2 separate regions of the Homo sapiens genome follow, and region 1 is linked to region 2. Evidence: promoter capture Hi-C in human tissues and cell types (Jung and others, 2019). All regions are on one chromosome and are shown on one strand. The core of a region is centred on a gene start or on the middle of the fragment in contact, and the rest is flanking DNA. Distances in the headings are between cores, read along the strand shown.

Region 1 (2,981 bases), core at 192-2,691, 1.0 Mb before region 2:
TAGCATTTTTATAGAATTCACTGAAAAGTCTCCGTAGGAGTAGGGCAAATTTTTGAAATATTTATTTATTTTACTTTTTCTGGGATACATACGTGTGCTGAACATGCAGGTTTATTACATAGGTATATATGTGCCATAGTGGTTTGCTGCACCTATCAACCTGTCATCTAGGTTTTAAGCTCCGCATGCATGAGGTATTTGTCCTAATGCTCTCCCTCCCTTTCCCCCCATGCCCCGACAGGCCCCGGTGTGTCATGTTCCTGAAATCTTTATTAAGGCAAAATATCCATCTCAAATCAGCCCTTCCACCCAGTGCCCACAGATACAGTAGGAGAAAATATAGTTAACAAGGGACTGTGCAAGGAACTGAAATGGTAGTGGAAATGCCTTCAAAAATAGGACTGGCTTGCAGAACCCAGGACGGTGGTGAAAAATACCCAATACTTGTAGAAATAACAGAAAGTTAGAGTATACAGTGTTTAAGCCAGAGGGAAAGATAAGAACACATTTTTAATTTATATTAAACAGGATAAAGGAAAATATTGTTGATTATTTATCCCTCCCTTCACCAAAAATGTTAGGATAGTGGATTGCTGAAGTAGGTTAGTCAGAGTTCCCAGAGGAGGCACCCATCTGTTCAGTGTGGCTTGGATGTTGTGTCTAAATGCCAGGAAAGGGAGAAGTGACCTCTTAAGGATCCTTCTGGGGTGATTTCATATGTGAAAAGATTATCCTTAGTCCACTTGGACCTGTTTTCTAGCTGGGTAAGTCACAAACATGACTTGTTACAGAGTTTCAGAATTTCAGTTCCTTCCCGTCTCCTCCCTTTTTTATTTAAATATTAGAAACGACTCCGGAGATCAGCACATGCTCGGAAGGAAACAGAGTTTCTTCGTTTGAAGAGAACAAGACTTGGATTGGAAGATTTTGAGTCCTTAAAAGTAATAGGCAGAGGAGCATTTGGTGAGGTAAAAATCACAGCTACTTGTCAAGTAGAAAAATATTGCAAAACTTCAAAGCTTCTAACATACCATTAAGTCATGATTGTTGATATAACAAATATATGGAATTAAATGAGTCAGGCATGCCAGCCCCACATCCTAATTGCTTTGTCTGTCTGCTTTCTCTTTTTCTTCTCTCCGCAGTCCCAGATCTCTGTTCTCTGTTTTGCCAGAGATGGTGTTGGTGTTTAAATATTGACTTAGGGGGAGAGTTGAAAGGTAGAAGGAAATCAACATTTATTATTTACAGGCTGCTTTTTTCCCATAATCAGGACAGTAACCCATTTTATAGATGGTGAAATTAAGACTCTAAAGGTATATATAATGTCTCTTGTTATCACACAGCCATTGAGTACTGGGACCAAAAGTTGGGCTCTACTTCCTGAACTCAAAGAGCTTGCTTTTCCCAGTACTGCACTGCCTCTCGAGAAGGAAACTAATAGTGTATCTCCACCCTTTATTTCTCCCCACCAGATTGATACAGCTCTAAAAAGATGACCCTAGGAGGGAGGATTTACAGAAAGGAGTTATATAGGTAGTGGTGGAGAGTTGAAAGCATTTGCGACTTTGTCCCCGCAATTCTTGGAAATGATCCTGCTTGGGCACAAGAGCAATCTGTTGGGGAGAGCTTGAAAGAGCCCATGCAAGGTCATTCCTGTTAATGAAAAATGCCCAAACTGGATGACCTACTGACGCAATAATTGCAAGTATAAAAGGAGCAGTATATTATTAAAACCTGGTACCCCGGGGCCAGGCACGGTGGCTCACTCCTGTAATCTCAGCACTTTGGGAGGCCAAGGCGGGCGGATCACAAGGTCAGGAGTTCGAGACCAGCCTGACAACATGGTGAAACCTTGTCTCTACTAAAAATAGAAAAATTAGCCGGGTGTGGTGGCACGTGCCTGTAATCCCAGCTACTCAGGAGGCTGAGGCAGGAGAATTGCTTGAACCCAGGAGGCAGAGGTTGCAGTGAGCCGAGATTGCACCATTGCACTCCAGCCTGGGTGACAGAGCAAGACTCCATCTCAAAAAAAAAAAAAAACAAAAAACCTGGTACCCCGGGGAAATGTGAATAGTATTCAGAGGCACAGGTGATAGATTGATCCCTCAGTGTTCAGAATTCCTATTGGCTTCTTGAAAGAGGGAAAAGTATAGTACCACCTCTGAAAGAGCTTTCTGTTTGGCAAGGAAGGGTTGTGGTACTCAATTAGGAAAAACATGAAGAAAGGTTCAGGGAGAAGAAAACCTACTTATTTTGGGAGAAGAGGGGAGGACATGCAGGAACTTGCAGTGAAATTTTTCTTTTGGTTGTAAATTTTCTTCATAAAATTATCTGTTTTCTTTAAGAACATTGGAAAACATAAAAGAGAAGGAAAACTACATAAAACACAATTTCCCTAATTACACATTTTGAATTTTCTTCTTCTTCTTTTTTTTTTTTTTTTTTTTTTTGAGACAGAGTCTTGCTCTGTTGCCCAGGCTGGAGTGCAATGGCTTGATCTTGGCTCACTGCAACCTCCGCCTCTCGGGTTCAAGTGATTCTACTGCCTTAGCCTCCCGAATAACTGGGATTACAGGCACCTGCCACCACACCCAGCTAATTTTCGTATTTTTAGTAGACGGGGTTTCACCAGGTTGGCCAGGCTGGTCTCGAACTCCTGGACCTCAGGTGATCCACCTGCTTCGGCCTTCCAAAGTGCTGAGATTATAGGTGTGAGCTACCGCGCCTGGCCTGAATTTTTTGTTTTTCTTTCCAGACGTTTTTCCTAAGCATGAAGTTTTACTTTGTTATTATTATTATGATTAAGTGACAAGGTTTCACTGTGTTGCCCAGGCTGGAGTGCAGTGGCTGTTTACAGGCACGATCTCACTACTGATTGGCATGGGAGTTTTGACCTGCTCCATTTCTGAACTGGGCCTGTTTGCCCTTCCTTAGGCAACCTGGTGGGCCCCCCCTCTGCCACCCTGCTCCTGGGAGGT
Region 2 (2,981 bases), core at 1-2,500:
GACCCCAGCAGCCCCTCAGCGCCCCCAGAGCCCGTCAGCGTGGGGGAAAGGATTCAGTGGAGGCTGGCAGGGTCCCTCCAGCAAAGCTCCCGCGGAAAACTGCTCCTGTGTCGGGGCTGACCTCTCACTGCCTCTCGGTGACCTCCGTCCTCTCCCCAGCCTGGCACAGGCCGAGGCAGGAGGAGCCCGGACGGCGGGTAGGACGGAGATGAAGAACATCTGGAGTTGGAGCCGCACATCTGGTCTCGGAGCTCGCCTGCGCCGCTGTGCCCCCCTCCTCCCCGCGCCCCAGTCACTTCCTGTCCGGGAGCAGTAGTCATTGTTGTTTTAACCTCCCCTCTCCCCGGGACCGCGCTAGGGCTCCGAGGAGCTGGGGCGGGCTAGGAGGAGGGGGTAGGTGATGGGGGACGAGGGCCAGGCACCCACATCCCCAATAAAGCCGCGTCCTTGGCCAAGCGGAGCGGTGGTTCCTCAGCGCGTGCGGAGAACGAGGCGGCAGGAGGCGTCCGAGGCGCGAGCTGGAAGTCTCAACCCCCGTCCCACTCCTGCCCAGGCCCCGGGCGCTCCCGCGTCCCCTCCCCGCGCCCGTCGCGGGTCCTACCGAAACTCGGCGGCCGCACAGCGTCGAGACGCCCCCCGTGGGGGCCCGGGGAGCCGGGGCGAAAGGGAGGGTCCCGGAGGTCGGGGAAGAGGGAGAAAGGGAGAAGAAATTCGAGAAACTAGCCACGCGGGGAGAACCAGACAAACCGGGTCCCGGCAGGGCGGGCGCAGCCGCCAGGGCGGAGCCGGGTCTGGGGCCCCGGGAGTGGGGGGCAGGCCCGCGAGCTGGAGGGTACGCTCCGCCTTGGCGGCTCGGGACTAGGGTGGAGGGGCCGGGAGCCCCGGGGCCCGTGCGCTCCGGCTCTGCCGGGCTCCTCGTGACGCGGCACCCACGGCCCCCGGCACCGACGGGAGCCCTGCCCGCGAGGCGAGGGCTCCGCCCTCGGCCCCGCCCCAGGCCGGAGCCCCAAATTCCGGCGGGTGCCCGGGAGCGGGGCGAGGCCCGGAGCGCAGGGGGAGGAAGGCAGCTCCGCACGGGCGGGCGAGGAGCGGGGCGCCCAGGCGCGCGCCAGCCGGGGTGGCCGGGTCGCGAGGCCGCGGGGTAGGCGGCCCGAGCGCGGCTGGACGGCCCCGCCCCTCCCGGCCAGCACCGCCCCCTGCGCGCCCCGCCCCCTCCTTCCCGCAGCCCCCACCCCCGCCCCGGCTCCTCAACACAAACTTTCCGTCCCGCTCGCTCCCTCCTCCGCGCTCGGCGCCTCCCGCTCCAGCCCGGCTCATTCCGCACATTCCGGCCAGCCCCCTCCCCACGACCCCCCTTCCCCGGCCCCCCTTGCGGCTCCCTCGGGCCCGGCGGAGCGGCCCGGCCGGAGCGCCCCCGCGAGCTCGGACCAGGTAAGCCGGGCGGACGCCGGGAGGAGGCCCCGCTCGGGAGAGGTGGTTTGGTTGGTCGGCTGGGCTGGCTGGGGGGGCGACACTCGAGGGGGACTGGGTCCCCGAGCTATTGTCCAGCCGGAGCTGGAGCCCCGGATCGGGGTGCCGGGAAGTTTAGAGGGAAGGGGGAAAATCTCTCCGGGAAGCCCCGCCCCCCGCCCTCCCCACCCCCCCGCGACGGGGACGAGTTGGTCCGGGAAGGTGGGGAAGCCGGGGAGACCGTGTCCCCTGTGCCGTCGCCTGTCCCGCCGTCCGTGCTTGGGGGGTCGGGGCGGGGATCCGGGGGCCGCACAGTGTGGAGGGCCTGCCTGCCACCCTGGAGCTCATATCCGGGGCGCCCAGTCCCGGGCCCCGCCGCCCTTTGGACTCCCGGCCCGCGCGCTCCCGGAGCCCGCCCGGCCTCAGCTCCACGCAGGCCTCGGGCCCGGCCTCCCAGCGCCCAGGCCGGTTTCTGCGCGCGGTGCCGCGGCTGCGCTGGGTTGTGGAGGGTGTCTGGGACCAAAGCCGCGCGCCCCGGCCGTGTGTCCCCTGAGAGGCAGGGAGGGGCTCACGTTCCCTTCAGTTCTGCCGCCTGCGTCGGGGTGCTGATTCAGAGTTCCAGCCCTGAGCGCTGTGAGCTTGGCTCGGAGGGGTCTGGATTTGGGGCCTTTTCTTCCCCACACTTGCTCAGGGCCCTTGTTTAGACTTGACAAGGTTTGAGGGTGGCTGGTCTCCCGCTTCCTACCCCGGTCCCCACCATTGTCTGTCATGCCCTTTATTCCTGCTAGGGGAGGGAGGGCTGGGAGCGCTGGTCTGGATCTGTTTTCCAGCCCAGCTGGGCCCTGGGGCAGTGTCATTGAGACCCCGCTCTGTCAACTTTCCTGGTGAGGGGCCCTGATCCAGGGCTGAGAGATTCTTTCAGTGCGAGGGGGAAGGAGGCCTTGGGGCGGACTTCTCAGGGGCTGTCTTCTTCTGTGTCTTCCCTCTTTCCAGGTAGGGGCAGAACCAGGTCAGGCCTGGACTTGTTGTCCGGAAGAACAGGGCATAGGGGTAGGGGCTGGACACAGCTCAGAGGGGCTGGTGCCCATAGCGGCTCTGCGTATCCAGTCTCTTGTGGCCTGGTTCTCTGTACACATGTTCCACCCCAGTGCTGGGGCCACCTGGGGCAAGGAGGGGAGGCTTTCCTCAAAAGTTGGAGATTTGGGGGAATTATGTCCTCTCCCTTCTAGACTCCTGTAGCCCCCCTCCCACCAAGACCCCTCTCGTAGGGGCACTCCCTAAAGGATGTGGTTCTGTGGTCTTCTGGGTCCCTGCTCACCCAGTGGGCAGAGTGCACAGATCTTCCAGGACAAGGCTGTCCAGTAAGGGTAACTTCAGGGGCCCTGGATGCCCCCTCCTCAGGGAGAGGGTAGGAGCCAGTATGAGTCCCAAGCTCTTGGGCCTTCCCCTACCCCCCCAGGGAGGGAACGTCATTAATGCTAATGAGCGCATCTGGGCTGGGGAATGGCTTGTTAGAGTGGTCAGTGGTTGCC

The links. Contacts are between HindIII fragments. The study calls those that stand out against the background at their distance.
Region 1: a fragment that was not itself captured here is called in contact with the fragment with the promoter of TEAD3 in region 2 in 1 of the 25 tissues and cell types used here (dorsolateral prefrontal cortex).

Annotation. Positions count from the first base shown.
Region 1 is chr6:36,522,328-36,525,308 of GRCh38, reverse strand. It overlaps STK38 (serine/threonine kinase 38), which reads left to right. Exons shown (of 14, transcript NM_007271.4): 4 at 846-968. It also overlaps the pseudogene RN7SL748P. Among named protein-coding and RNA genes, the nearest start is that of STK38, 24 kb to the left of the region's middle. The HindIII fragment of the contact is 7,855 bases long and covers 1-2,981 here.
Region 2 is chr6:35,495,348-35,498,328 of GRCh38, reverse strand. It overlaps TEAD3 (TEA domain transcription factor 3), which reads left to right and starts at 1,250. Exons shown (of 13, transcript NM_003214.4): 1 at 1,250-1,431. It overlaps TULP1 (TUB like protein 1), which reads left to right. Exons shown (of 15, transcript NM_003322.6): 15 at 1-455. The coding sequence ends at 2. It overlaps LOC124901309 (a long non-coding RNA gene), which reads right to left and starts at 196. Exons shown (of 2, transcript XR_007059561.1): 1 at 122-196. RefSeq lists enhancers at 1-343, 344-1,274, 2,221-2,981 and silencers at 743-1,072, 1,083-1,212, 1,393-1,442. The HindIII fragment of the contact is 31,199 bases long and covers 1-2,981 here.